Linked DNA regions of Homo sapiens: regions 1, 3 and 4 are each linked to region 2. Evidence: promoter capture Hi-C in 16 types of primary human blood cells and fetal thymus (Javierre and others, 2016). All regions are on one chromosome and are shown on one strand. The core of a region is centred on a gene start or on the middle of the fragment in contact, and the rest is flanking DNA. Distances in the headings are between cores, read along the strand shown.

Evidence for each region. Contacts are between HindIII fragments. The CHiCAGO score rates a contact against its expected background, and 5 or more counts as called.
Region 1: a fragment that was not itself captured here is called in contact with the fragment with the promoter of HAUS3 in region 2 in 7 of 17 cell types (endothelial precursors, naive CD4 T cells, M2 macrophages and 4 more); the score reaches 8.0 in endothelial precursors.
Region 3: a contact is called between a fragment that was not itself captured here and the fragment with the promoter of HAUS3 in region 2, in 1 of 17 cell types (naive CD8 T cells). The highest score is 5.2, in naive CD8 T cells.
Region 4: a fragment that was not itself captured here is called in contact with the fragment with the promoter of HAUS3 in region 2 in 3 of 17 cell types (naive CD8 T cells, total CD8 T cells and naive CD4 T cells); the score reaches 6.6 in naive CD8 T cells.

What each region holds. Positions count from the first base shown.
Region 1 is chr4:2,450,945-2,455,222 of GRCh38, reverse strand. It overlaps CFAP99 (cilia and flagella associated protein 99), which reads right to left. Exons shown (of 16, transcript NM_001193282.4): 9 at 4,205-4,276; 10 at 3,871-3,959; 11 at 2,877-3,081. Among named protein-coding and RNA genes, the nearest start is that of RNF4, 16 kb to the left of the region's middle. The HindIII fragment of the contact is 1,576 bases long and covers 1,384-2,959 here.
Region 2 is chr4:2,240,696-2,244,927 of GRCh38, reverse strand. It overlaps HAUS3 (HAUS augmin like complex subunit 3), which reads left to right and starts at 2,807. Exons shown (of 6, transcript NM_001303143.2): 1 at 2,807-2,877; 2 at 3,138-3,408; 3 at 3,835-4,232. The coding sequence starts at 3,982. POLN (DNA polymerase nu) reads left to right here and starts at 2,807. Exons shown (of 26, transcript NM_181808.4): 1 at 2,807-2,877; 2 at 3,138-3,408. It also overlaps the pseudogene COX6B1P5. RefSeq lists a silencer at 2,377-2,736 and enhancers at 3,417-3,516, 3,123-3,624. The HindIII fragment of the contact is 3,838 bases long and covers 324-4,161 here.
Region 3 is chr4:2,369,126-2,373,739 of GRCh38, reverse strand. The region is part of intron 1 of ZFYVE28 (zinc finger FYVE-type containing 28); the gene reads left to right. LOC107986249 (a long non-coding RNA gene) reads left to right here. Exons shown (of 2, transcript XR_001741550.2): 2 at 575-4,614. Among named protein-coding and RNA genes, the nearest start is that of ZFYVE28, 47 kb to the left of the region's middle. The HindIII fragment of the contact is 8,792 bases long and covers 1-4,614 here.
Region 4 is chr4:2,486,105-2,490,170 of GRCh38, reverse strand. All of the region lies in intron 1 of RNF4 (ring finger protein 4), which reads right to left. Among named protein-coding and RNA genes, the nearest start is that of RNF4, 19 kb to the right of the region's middle. RefSeq lists enhancers at 1-637, 1,989-2,098, 3,602-4,066. The HindIII fragment of the contact is 3,219 bases long and covers 362-3,580 here.

The DNA of each region.
Region 1 (4,278 bases), core at 922-3,421, 210 kb before region 2:
TTCCTAACATATAAAGAACATTAGGCTGGGCGCAGAGGCGCATTTCCGTAATCCCAGTATTTTGGGAGACTGAGGCAGGTGAATCACTTGAGCCCCGGAGTTAGAGACCAGCCTGGGCAACATGGCGAAACTGTGTCTCTCCTAAAAAGGTGGTGCACGCCTGCAGTTTCACCTGCTTGGGAGGCTGAGATGGGAGGATGGTTTGAGCCTGAGAGGCAGAGGTTGCAGTGAGCCAAGATCATGCCACTGCGCTCCAGCCTGGGCGACAGAGTGAGACCCTGTCTCAAAAAAGAAAAACTGTGGCCGGGCATGGTGGCTCACACCTGTAATCCCAGCACTTTGGGAGGCTGAAGTGGGCAGATCACTTGAGGTCAGGAGTTTGAGACCAGCCTGGCCAACATGGTGAAACCTTGTCTCTACTAAAAATACAAAAATTATCCAGACATGGTGGTGTGCATCTGTGGTCCCGGCTACGCAGGAGGCTGAGGCAGGATAACCGCCTGACCCTGGGAGGCAGAGGTTGCACTGAGCTGAGATCAACCCACTGCACTCCAGCCTGGGTGACAGAGTGAGACTCTGTCTCAAAAACAAAAACAAAAACAAAACAAAAACCAAAAAAAAAAAAAAACAAAAAAAAAAAAGAAAAAAAACAACAAAAAAAGAAAAATTGCTAAGAGAGTAGATTGTAAGTGTTCTTACCAGGAATAAGTATGTGAGATAATGCATATGTTAATTAGCTTGATTTAGCCATTCCACAATGTATTTGTATTCCAAAAGATCATGTTAGGCCGGGCGTGGTGGCTTCCACCTGTAATCCCAGCACTTTGGGAGGCTGAGACAGGTGGATCACTTGAGGTCAGGAGTTTGAGACCAGCCTGGCCAACACAGTGAAAACCCATCTCTACTAAAAATACAAAAAGTAGGCCGGGCACGGTGGCTCATGCCTGTAATCCCAGCAATTTGGGAGGCCGAGGTGGGTGGATCACGAGGCCAGGAGTTCAAGACCAGCTTGACCAAGATGGTGAAACCTCATCTCTACTACAAATACAAAAAAAGAAATAGCTGGGCATTGTGGCATGCGCCTATAATACCAGCTATTCAGGAGGCTGAGGCAGAGAATTTCTTAAACCCAGGAGGTGGAGGTTGCAGTGAGCCATGATCATGCCACTGCACTCCAGCCCGGGCGACAGAGCAAGACTCTGTCTCAAAAAGAAAAAAAAACCAAAAACCAAAAAACAAAAATTAGCCATGCATGGTGGTGCTCGCCTGTAGTCCCAGCTACTCAGGAGACTGAGGCAGGAGAATCACTTGAACCCGGGAGGCGGAAGTTGCAGTGAGCTGAGATCACACCACCGCACTCCAGCCTGGGCGACAGAGCAAGCTTCCATCTTAAAAAAAAAAAAAAATCATGTTATATATCACAAATATATTCAATTGCATTTGTCAAGTTAAATAAATAAAGAACCAAAAAAAAAAAAAAAGTCAGGGAAATGAAGGTCAAAAGTGCAATAGAAAATGGACAAAAGACATGGACAGACGGTTCACAGAAATAGACACAAATCATTTATATATGTATATGTGGACATTTGCTCAAATTCACTGATAAATAAATGAGATGCAAATCAGAACTATACCAAGATACTATTTCTGACCCATGAAATTGGCACAAATTCACGAATTCAGCCTGGTACACTCTGTGGCGGGGCATGCGGATCAGACCCCTCTCACACTTTGGTGGAGTGAAGATGGTAAAAGTACCAGGGAGACGATTGGCCATATTTAGTAAAACCACGCGTCCCAAACGGCAAGGACTCCTGCGTATCCAGTTACTCTTTGGTGTGACATCTGGAAATATAACTTCCTCTAGAAGTTTACCCTGAAAATCCAGCTCTGCAAAGGTGAAAGTCTTGCACATTATTCTTTGCAGATAAAGCAAGGTGTGACCTTTTATGTAACAAAAAAGGGAAGGACAAACTATGTATATACAAGTGTGTTATTTGCTTCGAAAGACGGGAAAGGTAATCCAGAAATTAATGAAAGGAAGGACCAACAAAGGAAGGTGGAAATGGGTTGTAAGTTATAGACTTACAAGAGGTGAGACTTCTCTGAGTCTACCTTTTCATATTGTTTAGACTTCATTTTTGTTTGTTTGTTTTGTTTTTGAGACAGTTACGCTCTGTCGCCCAGGATGGAGTGCAGTGGCATGATCACGGCTCACTGCAACCTTGACCTTCCAGGCTCACGTGATCCTCCTACCTCAGCCTCCCGAGTAGGTGGCACTACGGGCACGCACCACCATGCCCGGCTAATTTTTGTATTTTTTACAGAGACGGGATTTTGCTATGTTGCTCAGGCTGATCTTGAACTCCTAGGCTCAAGTGATCTTCTGGCCTTGGCCTCCTAAAGTGCTGGGATTATAGGTGTGAGCCACCATGCCTGGCCTGGCCTTCATATTTTTTTAAAAAAGTAAAAAGGAAAGAAAAGGCAAACCTTAAAATTGAATACAGACACAGATGAAACTATCAAAAGAAGCAATCTGAGTGACCTTTGATCAAGTCCCTGACCGCAGGCCTGCAAAGGGATACGTCCCAGGAGAGAGTATACAGGCCGGCCTCCTGGGGCTGAGGCTCCCCGCTGGTCCAGGCCACTGTGAGGCCCACTGGAAGGAGCAGGCACTCTCGGGGAACACAGGCTGAGCGTGCCCACCTAGGCAGTGTGTCCTTCGAGGAGGAAGAGGAGCCAGGACCAACACATCAGTAGCTTCTACGGGGGCGCTGTGGACACTCAGCTCCACTGCCAGCCCTGGCCCTGCAGCTCCCGGTGGGCACACAGTTCAGCTGGCTGCCCCATGCCCAGCTGCCCTGCATGGCACCCACCTGCTCCTTCTGCTGCTCCACCCTCTGCTTGTTCTCCTGCATGAGGCTCTGCCGGGCTAGGACGGCCTCCTCATGGCTAAGCTTCCCTTGCAACCGCCGGCACTCGCTTGCAGCCAGCTGCTCCTCCCGGTCCTTCGCCTGCATCTTCTTCTGCCACTCGAAGAACTCAGAGAAGTCCCCAGCCCCATCCACGAGCTTATCAACCCTGGGCAAAGAGGGACAGAAGCACAGCTTGGGGTTTCTCCCGTGACAGAGGCTGCTGGGTGGTCACAGGTTTTCCTGAGGGACAGTGGCTGCGCAGGCGTGGGCTGCTACTCCTGACACCCAGCTGCGTGGCCTGCCCTTCCTCCTATCCCCGACCCACTGTCCACCCATCCCCTGGTCCCCCTTTCTGTGCGTCCACCCATCAGCCCCATCCACCCACCCCTCCCTTCATCCACTTGTTTGTCTACCCTCACTCTGTCCAACTGTCTGTCCATCCACCAACCCTGTGTCCATCATCTGTCCATCCATCAACCTTCTGTCCTCTGCTAGCCTGGCCACCCTTGCCCCTGTGCACCATCTGTGCGTCCACTCCACCATCTGGTCAGACACCCATGCTCCCCCCACAGCCTGACTTGCAGACAAGGAAAGACACGACCACACCGCATGGGGTAAGCACAGGGGTTTGCAGCCCTGGTGGTCTAGGAGATGGGGGCATCAGGAAGGGGTCCAGGGAGGAGGTAACCCCAAGGGAGGTTTGGTGTGGGTTGGGCCTTTGCTAAGTCCCTCCAGCCCCATTCATGCCCCTCACTGAGCCGGCATGATCTTTGTAAGATGCACCTGGGACCCTGACACAGTCCTGCTTGTCGCCCCTGTTGCTGCAGGACCACAGCCTGTTGTGACCCCCGAGTCCCTCTCCACTGAGCTGCCCAGCCCCCAGGCCCCTCCTCTGAGCCTTTCCTCTCAAGGGTGATGCCGTGGAAGGCAGGTGGGGGGGCCTGCCGCCCTTCACCTCTGCAGCTCCTGCTCCACCTGCCGCTGGTACAAGGCCCCTTCTCGCAGGATGGCTGTGGTGTTCAGCTTGACCAGGATGTTGTCAGGCTGCGGGATTGGGGACTGGCTGTGGTGGGGGCTTGAGGAGACCCTTGGGAGCAGCAAATGCCCATCCTGCCCTCATGCCCGTCACACCTGCCCCCTGCCCAGGTGCTTCCCTATCCCCCAGGGTGGGGCCGTCCTTGGGACTCTAGGTCCCCCAGCTCAGGTCATCTGAGCCTCTACGGGCAGAAAAGGTCTGGAGGGGTGGGTGCCCAGGGAGAGCAGCCTGACCATCCAGGAGCACCCCTCACCCTATAGAAGGTCAGCTTCGGAGTCTTTCGGATTCGGGGTGGGAACTGAAGCCGCAGCTGCTGCTTGGAGCCCT
Region 2 (4,232 bases), core at 1,558-4,057:
TAGAGTCCCACAAAATTCATGGAAAACTACATCTAAAAGAAATAATCTTTAGCATCTGACTGTTACTTCTAAAGTTTAAAAACAGTCAGAAAAGATACTGTCCAAAACCTAAAATATTTTTTAATACTAATAGGAGAAAATCGCTTCCACAGGAAGGAGAAAAAGCAAACAGCAAAAACACTTGATCCTCACAGCTCTGTCTTTAGGTCTGTTTAGTCCATTATATTCTCATGGGCTTTTTCAGGGAGGATTAATTCCTGGGTTCCATTTATCTTTTGACCTTACTAAAACTCCAAATAATTTTGACTGCTGAAAAGAAAGCTTACCCTGGAAATACACGTAACATACTTGCTTTCTTAAATTCCCAAGGCAAGCTGAAGAAAACTTTCCACATCTGTATAGTTAAACCTATTGTGTTTGTCATTTGTACTCCAGGGGCTGATACTGTTGTAATTTTTACTTAATGGTTTTATGGCTTTTATGGTCTCATAAACACCTTTCCAACAAATAACTATGGTCAGCAATTCAAAATCAGATGGAGAATTAATTTGTGGCCCAAGAAACCACCCAGGAGTCACTAGGAAAGTGGGTTTCTAGAACGGCCTCCAGGGCTCTGGAGTGCACCCCTCCTGCCCTCCAGGGATCTCTTTCTATAAAGGAGCCCCTTGTCTTTCTGCCGTCTTTAATGCTGTCTCCTCAGAGTTCCTCCTTGCAGTCTATAAATATCCCCGAGTTCCTCTCATTTTCAAACAAAACAAAATAAAAAATCCTCCCCTCAGCCCTGCATTCCCACCCCCTCAGCTTGTGTTGTTTTGCATGCTCGCTCTCTGTCTTTCTCCTCTCTCTCTCTCTCTGTGTCTCTGTCTGTCTCTGTCTCTCTGTCTGTCTCTGTCTCTATCTGTCTCTCTGTGTCTCTGTCTCTCTGTCTCTGTCTCTGTGTCTCTGTCTCTCTGTCTCTGTCTCTCTGTGTCTCTCTGTCTCTGTCTCTGTCTCTCTGTCTCTGTCTCTCTGTTTCTGTCTCTCTCTGTCTCTCTGTATCTCTCTCTCTGTGTCACACTCCTCCCACCCAGTCTTTGCCTCATCAGCAACATTTCTGGAAGGCATTGCCTGCACAGCTCCCACTTCCTCCTGTCCAAACTGGCTCAACTCTGCCCCCTGATGCACACCCCCAACCTCCAACCCTGGGCTGCAAGGGTCCTCCCACCAGGCCTCCCCGTTCCAGCATCCCTGGTTTCCTTGCCTGCAGATTGGGCACCACTCTTTGAATTTTTTCCCATCATGTTTGTTTTTCAGATCATTTTAGGCCTTATTGACTTTTAAAAGAGGAGGAAAAAAACGTGAAACAAGTGAAGAATGAATAGGAAATATCTTTGACTCGATCAGATTACAATATTTGCCTTAGAACATTCTTATTTCTCTCCTTAAAAATATTAAGAAAAACTATCCAAACGACTTCTACCTAGTCACCCTGGACTAGGACATTGTCTAACAAGCCACCTTTAGGGTCATTTGACGCTGAAGGGAGGGAGTACTATTATATTTACCCATGACCAAAGCCCCTGCTAACCTGTGGAAGACTGAGGAGTGGCAAAGGATTTTTGTTTGGTAGAGATGCAAACGAATTCTGTCCAATAGAGAGGTCTGGTTTCACTGGGCTGTAGGGCATCAGCCAGATTCACATGAAATTTAGCAATCCCGTTTCAGTCATCTTTCACTGACTGCCATCCTCTTTGGAAATGGTGTACCATCCTCCTTGAGTTAAATATATCGATGTATTTAACTCAGGCCATTCCGTTTATTTCTAACATTTTGAAAAGGGAATTGTGGAGGAAGTCAGCTTTTTTTTTTTTTTTTTTTTTGAGACGGAGTCTTGCTCTGTCGCCCAGGCTAGAGTGCAGTGGCGTGATCTCGGCTCACTGCAACCTCCACCTCCTGGGTTCAAACGATTCTCCTGCCTCAGCCTCCCGAGTCGCTGGGATTACAGGCGCCCACCACCGCGCCCGGCTAATTTTTGTATTTTTTAGTAGAGATGGGGTTTCACCATCTTGGCCAGGCTGGTCTCGAACTCCTGACCTCATGATCCCCCCCCCCCCCCCCCCCGGCCTCCCAAAGTGCTGGGATTACAGGCATGAGCCACCGCGCCCGGCCAGAAGTCAGCTTTTACATAGTGTTCTGGTGAGGGATTAGAAATTAAGTGTTTTTGCAAAATAAAGTTCATTGTAAAAGACTCTAAGCGAACAATCCCTAACCCTTAAAATGTACCAGGCATTGGTCGGGCTGCTGTGAATGTTCCGGGAACTCGTCTCTCTCGGGGGCGAGCGCTATCACCGCCGGGCTCCAGCCTGTCTCCCAACCACCAACCTGCGCTGCTCTTTGTACCATTCAAAAGTGCCTTCAGAGGGTCTAGATTGAAGTACGGGGCAGGGCAGGCCTGAAGCACAACTGACGGCTCCGTTGAGAGCAGGCCCGCAGCTTCAGCTCCCCAGAGGGCGCCCCACCGCACCCCTCTGCACCCCTCTGCACCCCATTCATTGCCCAGGCTCCGCCCCCTGCCCAGGCCCCGCCCCTGTCCAGGCCCTGTCCCCGCCCTTCCCGGCCCAGACCCCGCCTCTCTCTGCCCTGCGCCCCGCCCAGGAGGCAGGATGCCCGCAGCGGCCGGGGGCCGAGCGCCGCCTGCTCAGCTCCACCCCATAGTCCAGCCTCGCCGACTCCGCCTCTTTTGACACTACGCCTGCGCAAACAGTCATCCCCCACGACCACGCCGTCGCCTTGTGCGCTTGCGCGCGTCCAGGCGCTCCCGTGAGGCAGTGCGAGGCGCGCGGGGCACGGAGGGCGGTGGCGGCGGGCTCCTGCGAGAAGCAAGCGGAACTTCCTGAGGTGACTGACGCGGGCCTCGGTTCTGGGCGCAGGGGTGTGGGGCTGGAGGAGTGGCCGCGATCCCCGTCTGCACCCAGGTGCCTCTTTTTTTTCCTGCGCTCCTGGGGGCTCCTTCCAGGTGCTCCAGCAGCTGCCCGGGGATCAGGGCCCGGTCCGCTGGGCGAGGAGCTGGGGCGGGGGCTGTGCGGGGCCTGTCACCCCCGTCTTCTGCAGCTCGGTGTCGACGGCGATTCGGTGGGCTTGTGCGTTTGTTTTGTCAGCGTGCTTAGGTGTCACAGCTGGGTGACCCTCCGAAGGAAGGTTTTGCCGCTGGCGCGTCTGGTGTATCGCGGCCTTGGGGCCGCGGATCCCTGGGGCTTGCCGCTGCCTCTGGGGTTCGCGCGGCCCTGGCGTCGGGGCTGCCTCAGCGCTGGCTGAAGGCCGGCCCGAAGCACCCTTAATTGTGGCCGCGCGCTTCCCTGCTGCTCCTGCTGTTCTCCGCGTCGCGGTGGTGGACTCTGGAGGTGGAGCCTTGCCCGGCGAGACGTTGAGGTAAATATTTAGTTGATCTTCAGAAGATGTGCCATGCTTATTTGCGTCTTCTTACGTACGGAGGGCAGGGAAGAGAGGCTGCCTAGCCTCCTGGTGGCTTGGGTTTGTTTGGATCCATTTATTTTGAATTAAAAACAAATGCTGCTCTATAAAGTGTAATGCATTTTAAACCATTTTATCTTTGGAAAAAAAGATAAAATGGATCCAAATAGATCCACTTTCTTGTTAATTACTTTTCGTTACTGTTGCGGTTTTCTGAGAACTAGCCTAATTGTTTCTGTTTCTCTTTATCATCATCAAACATTGCAGCTACGACTACCTGTCATTTATCCCGCTCTCGGATATCATGTGATATTTGTCTGTGTCTTCTTTTTAAAAACACTGTCGTCATATTTGTGGTCTAATACTTGTTTTCTTCCCCCCTAGGAGGAATCATTATAGATTCTAAAAATATATTTTCCCTTCTCTGTGGACTTGGTATAAAACGTAGCTTTTTTTCTGCTTGGATTTATTTTCTAAAAATCAACACCGTAAACCCATATCAGATACAACAAAATTGGGGTAGTTAAAACCATGAGTTGTGGAAATGAGTTTGTGGAAACATTAAAAAAAATTGGTTATCCCAAAGCTGATAATCTTAATGGAGAAGACTTTGACTGGTTGTTTGAGGGCGTTGAAGATGAATCGTTTCTGAAGTGGTTTTGTGGGAATGTGAATGAACAGAACGTGTTGTCTGAAAGAGAATTGGAAGCTTTTAGCATTCTTCAGAAATCAGGCAAGCCTATTCTAGAAGGGGCGGCATTGGATGAAGCTCTTAAAACGTG
Region 3 (4,614 bases), core at 1,694-4,193, 130 kb before region 2:
GTGCATTTGAGGGGCTCCGTGGGGAACGGAGATTCTGCCAGGGCATACGAGTGCATGTTTGCCACTGCATGGGTTCTAGAGCCCCTGCTTGAAGGTTTGAGACAATTAAGAATGGATCGATGTGTTCTCAGGTTCACACAGGCAGAAGACCAAGATGTTGACAGTGTTTCAGCTCCAGGAAACACTGTTTTTCTTTTACATTTTTCAGAACTTCCATACTTAAAATTATTTTTTTGAGACAGGGTCTCACACTGTTGCCCAGGCTGGAGTGCAGTGGCAGTGGCGTGATCATGGCTCAATGTTGCCTTAACCTCTGGGGCTCAAGCAGTCTTCCCACTTCAGCCTCCCGAGTAGCTGGGACTACAGGTGCATGCCACCACAGTCAGCTAATTTTTAAATTTTTTGTAGAGATGTAGGTCTCACTATGTTGCCCAGGCTGGTCTTGAACTCCTGGGCTTGAGCAATTCTCCCACCTCAGCCTCTCAAGGTGCTGGGATTACAGGCACGAGCCACAGCACCCAGCTCATACTTTTTATAATAAAAAATTATTTAAAAGTCATTTTGTATTTCACAGGCCCTATCAGACATGGTCACTCTCTAAGAAGGTCTGAGCATAGCTGAAGTGGATCATCTCATTCAACTTTGGGTGACTGGTGAATGCTGTCTGTCTGCCACTGCATTCTTGAGCCTTCTGTCCCTGTGGTGGGGGTGGCTGTGGGGGTAGAGGCTGGCTCAGGCATAGGGTAAGGGTACCCCGAGTGTCTGCCCAGAGACGTGGTGGTCTTCTGGTGGGCATGCGGTGGTTTTTCCCTCCCTAGTCGTCCAAGGTTGGCTGGCAGAGAGGCTGGGGGTGCTAGGAGGGCCCCTGGGTAGGGACTGGGTCCAGGCTGCAGTGAGTCAGCCATGGGGAGAGGCCTCGGGGAGGCTAGGTCTTAGGGGTGTGCAGCATCCTTGGTCCAGGGAGGCAGCTGGCTCTGCCATCATGAGCCCCAACCCTCGGAGTTTAACTGACACAATCAGCGAAGCCCTGGAGTGCCTGCCCCTGCCTCTGCGGAGGGAGTGACAGCCAGTGCCCACCCGTGCCCAGCCGCAGGCCCTCCCTCATCAGGTCCCTTCCCAGAATCCAGGCCCTGTTCAGAACCCCAGCACCCCTGCCTGCCCGCACCTCTGTGTACCCCTCCCACATGATGGGGTGATAGGGCATGGTGCCGTGCTGGAGGGGCTAGGAGGCCTCGATGATGGTGACGTCCAGGCAGAGACCCGAATCGGGTGAGTCAGGTGTTGGGTGAACCTTGAGGCCAAAGACCCAGCACTGGAACCTGCTGGGCATGCTGAGGACTAGAAGGAGGATGGCGGGAGCGGTGGTGGCAGGAGGCGGCGATGGAAGGGCTGGGGAGGCAGCGTAGGGCTGTGAAGACACGCCTCTGTGTTCCTGTGAGGGTGGTGGGACCATTCCTACCCCCTCACGAGTCCTTCTCGGAACCAGACTCAGCCCCGCCACCATCCTTCTAGGATGGAAACCTCTGGTTCTCTGGAAGGTCCTTTGGGTCCTGTTGGTCACGGGAATAGGTAACAGCAAACAAAACATTTGCCCTCCTCCCCGCTCCCCAGTTCTGACAGATGTCCACATGGGCCATGCGCACCAGAACCGGCCACACGCTGCACGCCCCTCCAGGCTTCCACTGGGCTGACCTGAGGCTCGTGCATGGCCTTGCACCCCTGCCAGCCCCCAGCTCCATCACTGTCATAGTTGGGGTCTGTGCCTCTAGGCTGCTCCTGTGTGGCTGTCCAGCCCTGGATCCTGGGGACACACGGCCATCAGCTCACGGCCCTGGAGCCCAACCTTCATCCTGTTGCCGCCGAGGCCGGCTTCTCACGCTGGGTGGGGGGCGGGCTGCCAGCTGTTTGCTGGGTTAGGACTGAACCCGCAGCGTGGCCTTCCCAGGCCAGCCTTAGTGGCCAGACTGTGTCTTTTCCAGTTTGGCTTTAGCCCTTAAAGACACTGAAGAGGTTTAATTATTTGCCTGCTATTGTTGAAGGGAGTCTTTGTACTCTTTTGTTTTCTGTTTTTTGTTTGTTTGTTTGTCTGTTTTTTGCCCTGCCGGGAGCCCCTGTGCCTGAGTTACTTTTCTGCAGATACTATCCTGGCTTTTCTTGAGTGAATACCCGTTTGGCTTTTTCCTGCCATATGTCAAGCCTCTGGAACATCGTCAATATTTTTCCTCTCATAATGCATAAAAATAAAGTACAGGCTCTCACTGGACTATTTTGCAAATAATTTTTATCCTCTGATAAAATGACACATTGGTGAGAGCAGGCGTTCCTTTAGGACAGCTATTTTTAAAGAATGATGGAATCGTCTTAATCATCTGTTAGTGGCGGGCACCTTTATAAGTCAAATGCTTCTAAGTTGTATTTGCATTATTTGATTATTTCAGCAATAACCACAGTACAAAAGAAGAATGTGCCAGGGAGCACGACGCGGGCAACCACACAAATCAGCCCCGCCAGGTGCTGGCTGAGTCCATGTGTCCAGGCGGCTTTGCCCTTTCCTGTGGTCACCCCATCCCCTGTCTGCTTGCTTCCCCACTCAGCCCCCACGTGAGCTCCCCATCTTCTCTCCAGCTCCAAGTCGCCCACCTGCAACTTCTCCTAAGGAGCGGGGCCCGAAACCTAACAACTGGTCAAGAAGAAGAGCCAGACTCGGGCTGCGCCCCACATGCTGCGTCCACGTTCACCCCAGGCCTGGGTCCTCTTCCCTGGGGGTCTTCGTGGTGGACAGTGGGCACCGTGTCTTCTCAGTGGAAGCACCTGGAATGCTGCATTACACAGGAAGATCCGAGACACACGTGACCCACATGGACGTGGCAGGGTTGGGTGCCCATCCCTCCTGAGGGCAGTCAGAGAGGCGCCCAGCATCACAGTGTGGGCAGGAGGGGTGGCCGGCGAGGGATGTGGTGTGCAATCTGGCGCCCCAGACTGGCCCACTGCAGGTGGTCCCATGGCCTTGCCACGTCCGGGGAGCCGAGAGGTGGGGGTGGCAGCAGGCATGGGAGACACCCCTCTCCCGGTACAGTGATGCCCAGGATGGTGGGTGCTCCCTCTGGCCCCATCTCTGCATCTCACTGGTGGGCTCTGGGCCCTGGGCCGGCAGGATTGGGTCCAGGGCTACCTCTGTCCTGCCGGTGTCCCACCTGCACGGGGGGAAGATTTGTCGAAAGAGATCTCCCAGAATGTGGGGTGATGGCTATTCTTAGAGGCACTGGGGGCACTTAGGGAATCCCTACCCCCAAGTGTGAGCTGGGGTGTGGGCCCAGGGCACCCCATCCATGGGCTGGGCAGCTCGGCCAGCTCTGCTGACTCCAGGTGTGTCCAGGGGGCTCAGGCCGAGTGATGGTCAGGGCCGATCCATAGGATAAACGCACTGACATGGGGTTTCTCAGTGCCCCTGATGACACAGGACCAGGCAAATCCCCTTCTCTCCGCTGTGGGACATCAGGTAATCGTGGTGCTGTGGGAGAGGGGCATCTTCATTCTGTATGGCTGCTGTGACCAAGTCGCACACAGTGGGGTGCTTAAAACAACAAAAATCGGCCGGGCGTGTTGGTTCACACCTGTAATCCCAGCACTTCGGAAGGCTAAGGCGGGCGGATCACGAGATCAGGAGATCAAGACCATCCTGGCCAACATGGTGAAACCCGTCTCTATTAAGAGTACAAAAATTAGTCGAGCTTGGTGATGCACTCCTGTAATCCCACCTGCTCGGGAGGCTGAGGCAGGAGAATTGCTTGAACCCGGGAGGCGGAGGTTGCAGTGAGCCGAGATCACGCCACTGCACTCCAGCCTGGTGACAGAGCGAGACTCTGTCTCAAAAAAAAAAAAAAAAAAAGAAAAGAAAAAAAAAAATCCCTTCTTTCAAAGTTCTGGAGACCAGAAGTCTGAGGTCGTGGTGTGGGCAGCACTGGTTTCTTTTGGGGGCTCTGAGGGAGGGTCGCTCCTTGCCTTCTCCAGCTCCCGGTGTTGCCGGCTGTCCTTGGGGTTTCTTACAGGCCCGTCACACCGATCTCCGCCCCATCTTCACATGGCATTCTCCTCTGTGTGCCTTTCACCTTCTCTAAGGCCACCTGTCACTGGGTTTAGGGCCCACCCAGAGAGTCCAGGATGGTCTCAGGTTGAGATTCTTACCTCTCTTTCATCTGCAACAACCGTTTTTCCAAAAACAGTCATATTCACACATTCCAGACATGCTTCAAGGGGACCACCATTTGACCCACTGTGGGTGGGTAGGAACCATGTCTGAGGTCCCAGAGTAGGCTCTGGGGGCACCTTTTCCTTACTCAAGGGCCTCTCTTTATGGCAAATTAGGTCCTAATCACAACAAAGGTGCCACATTGCCCAGTCCACACTTGCCCATGGCTTTGGTGGGGTCCTGTGGCTGTGGCAGGGGGGACCCTTGTCTCACCAGATGGAACAGCCTGGCCTAGATTGCTCTGATGTGAGAAAGCAGATCTGGTCAGTCCACAGAGTGCGGCGTTCCACACCCTTGACTCACAGATGTCACCAGGAGGAAGGATGGCAGGGATGCCCCTCTAAGCACCACCTGCCCTTAGTGTA
Region 4 (4,066 bases), core at 722-3,221, 250 kb before region 2:
GCATGTAGGACTTCCTGATCCCAAAGCCTGCAATTGTAATTATTATGCCACCTCCTACTCTTCTTCCTGGCTCCTGCCACCTTGGCAAGGTACCGTGCTAACTGCTGGGAGGAGGTGCGAGTCAGGACTGCCACACATGACCACACCAACTCCTCAGGAACCAGAAGGGAAGGGACAGAGCTTCTGAGGCCACAGCTCAGAGCCTCAGGTTCTTCCCACAATTTCACTGTCGCCGTCCGGAGTTGAGAAGACAAGAGCCACTCACTCTAAAGCATGTTGTGTGTCCAGCTGAGACTTCTGTTGCTGGGACCAGGTGAATGGTGAATCGGGAGGCTGTGGACTAGGCAGCCAAGCAGAAGCTTTGAGGAAAGGCAGAGAAATCACCAGATGCAGAGGCTGCGAGGCCCTTGGACTTCACTGAGAAGCGAGGCCGACCACGGTAAACTCAGCGTCAGCGACGCATGGTTAATGGAGCCACAAAGCCCTGAGCACAGGCAAGCCTGAGGGTTGAGAGAGAGCCAAAGCAAGGACAAGACCCTTGTGGCCACCCACTGCTGGGTGCTAGTGGCTTAGATTAGGAGAGTGCTTCTCAAGCATGAGCCTGTATCAGGCTCCCCCACAGAGGGCTCGTTAAGCACAGCCTGCTAGGCCCTCCAATTTACGTATCTAACAAGTTCCCAGGTGCTGCTTCCAGAGACCACACCATGGAACGTACTGAAGTAGCATAACGAGATGGAGTTGCAAAACAGACACAGGTGAGAGGGATCCAGGTGGCGGAAACGACAGGAACGCTCTCACATCCACCCTTCTGTGCATCCCCAGTGCTGTGCCGTGTCATCCTCCTGTGCACCATTACCATGCCTGCTCATGCTGGGTCTCCTGTCCCTGGGTGCCCGTCTACCCTACTGCCAGGCCATCTTTCCGAAACATTTGCCGCAGCAACTTTCCCTGGCTCCTTATCAAGGCCTAACTCCTAAGCATGGTGTGTGGAGCCAGGCTGGCACTGCAATTAGGGCACATCTCTTGAGCCAGGCAACTGAGATTGAAATCCAGGCATCGGCCGGGTGTAGTAGCTCACACCTGTAATCCCAGCACTCTGGGAGGCCAAGGCGGGTGGATCACCTGAGGTCAGGAGTTTGAGACTAGCCTGGCCAATATGGTGAAACCCCGTCTCTACTAGAAAATACAAAAAATTAGCCTGGAGTGGTGGTGGATGCCTGTAATTCCAGCTACTTGGGAGGCTGAGGCAGGAGAATCTCTTGAACCTGGGAGGCAGAGGAGCCGAGATCATGCCATTACACTCCACCCTGGACAACGAGAGCAAAACTCCATCTCAAAAAAATAAATAAATAAATAAAAAATGAAAATAAAATCCAGGCACCTGCAAACCCCAACCTGTGACCTTGGGGCATGGCATTGAACTTCTCTGTGCCCCATTTCCTTATCTATAGAACAGAACTGCACCTACCTTAATGGTGTGTGAGGATTCCAGAAGTTATTACAAGAGAGTGTTTGGAACAGTGCAGGCACACTGGAAAGGCTCAGTGTCTGTGGGCTGACACATACCCATCACCACACTCAGCCCCACAGCACCAGGTTGGCAGTCTCTCCAAATAAACCTTCCCAGTGACCAGCTCCAACCTTCTGCTCAAGCCCTAAAATGCTGTGTGATATCACATCCCACTCAGTTTTTTTTTGTTGTTGTTGTTGTTGTTTTTGAGACGGAGTCTCACTCTGTTGCCCAGACTGGAGTGCAGTGGGCTCACTGCAACCTCCACCTCCCAGGTTCAAGTGATTCTCCTGCCTCAGCCTCCCAGTAGCTGGGACTACAGGCATGTGCCACCACACCAGGCTAATTTTTCTACTTTTAGTAGAGATGGGGTTTCCACCAGGTTGGCCAGGCTGGTCTCGAACTTCTGACCTCAGGTGATCCACTTGCCTCGGCTTCCCAAAGTGCTGGGATTACAGGCATGAGCCACCACGTCTGTCCTCCCACCCAGCTTTAAGAAAGGATGCATACCTCCCCGCCTCATTCACAGTACAGCCCCTGCCCTGGGAATACAGCAATGAGCAAACACAGCCTCTGTGCAGAATCTAGGGCGGGGAGAAGGGTGAGGAGGGTGCTGGCAGGCAGCTATAACGAAGTTAGGAACTAAGTGTGCAAGAAGTACAGGAGGAGAAAGGGAGGCCAGAGTAGGTTTTTCAGGAGATGCCCAAAGGGACCGCCGTCCCAGCTGAGCTGAGCATTTTCTTCAGCACTTGGTCGTCTGGTTCTGAGAAAATGGCATACTGTATCTCACTCCCTGAGCGCCTCATTCTCTAGCTTGACCTCAATGGTTTAGAGGGGAAATCCCCTTCACTGTTTCACTCTAATAAAGGGTGACTTGCATCTCCTTAGGCTGGCCCATACTATGGGACTACGGGTGCTCTCAACAGAATGCACAAATGGGGCAGGCACAGTGGCTCATGCCCTATAACCCCAGCACTTTGGGAAGTTGAAGAGGGAGGATCTCTTGAGCCCAGGAATTGGAAACTAGCTTGGTTAACATGGTGAGATCCTGTCTCTATAAAAAAATTAAAATAATGAGGCTGGGCAGTGGCTCATGCCTGTAATCCCAGCACTCTGGGAGGCTGAGGCAGGCAGATCACTTGAGATCAGGAGTTCAAGACCAGCTTGGCCAACATGGCGAAACCCCGTCTCTACTAAAAATATAAAAATTAGCCGGGTGTGGTGGTGTGCGCCTATAATCCCAGCTACGTAGGAGGCTAAGGCACAAGAATCACTTGAACCCGGGAGGCGGAGGTTGCAATGAGCCAAGATGGCACCACTGCACTCCAGCCTGGCCAACAGAGAGAGACTCTGTCTCAAAAAATAAAAATAAAAACACATTAAAAAAATAGCCAGATGTGACGGTGCACACTTGTAGTCCCAGCTACTCCAGGGGCTGAGACAGGAGGATCACCTGAGCCCAGGAGGTCAAGACTGCAGTGAGCCATGACTGCACCATTGCACTCCAGCCCGGAGCACAAATGCTTCTCAAAGCAACACCTCACCTGGTAAGTGTTCAACTTTAAACAGACATTCAGGGAAGAGGCTCTGGCTAGGAAAAGACTTGTCTAGTTGGTTTCAACAGAGGTGGGAGGTGCCTCGACATCACCTTAGGACTCACAAGATCATTCAGACCACACGACAGTCCCAGATCCACCACATGTCCTGGGTTCTCATATCCACGAATGTTTCTGATCTCAAGAAATATCTTACATTTGGGTGCACATCTATCATATAGGGGCTTGTTCTCCCCGCCACATCAATAGCGTGTCTTAGAATTTAGAAAAGAGAAGCTACTGACAAAGGAAGACAGAGAAATCAGCCTGCAGAGCAAAGGGAAACACCTGATGTCCACACCCAGGCTGTTCCTAAGCCTCTCTCCTCCCACTTCACTGATATTGAGGCTTCCAAATACGGCTGCTGAAGATGTGCCTTGTGGCTGTCCTGGCCTGCACACCCCTCACCACTCTGAAACCAGCCTCCTGCATCCCTGCAGGCCCAGCTAGACCATTACTACTTCCCTGGGAAGCTTTCTGGAGCCCCCTCATTCTCCATGCCCTGGCCCATACAGCAATTCACCCCAAATCTGGTTTTTCTCTCTCTTTTGGGTTTAGTAAGGGTCAGGAGTCAGAGTTCAAAGGAATTTGGAAGGCTGGTCTTGGGGATAAGCCACCAAGAGGCTGGATTTCACCAGGGCACTGAGGTGAGACAGGAGCATTTCCAGCAGAGCATCCCAGCGTGGTGGGGACGTAGAAATGCAGAGTGAATGGAGACCTTAGCGGTCATGGGAAAGTAGCCCTCACCAACTACAAAGGGTTCTGGATCATGCAGGTGAGAGTCCAATGGAATAAGAAAACTAACAACAGCTGAGAGGTGCCTTCTCTGCATCTGCACAAGGCACTGCGCTTCCTAAATATTAATATCACCACATGTGCTCCTCACATCACCCAGTAAGGAAATAAGCACTGTTATGTTCCCCATTTTACCCATGAAGCAGCTAAGGATTAAAGTTAAGGA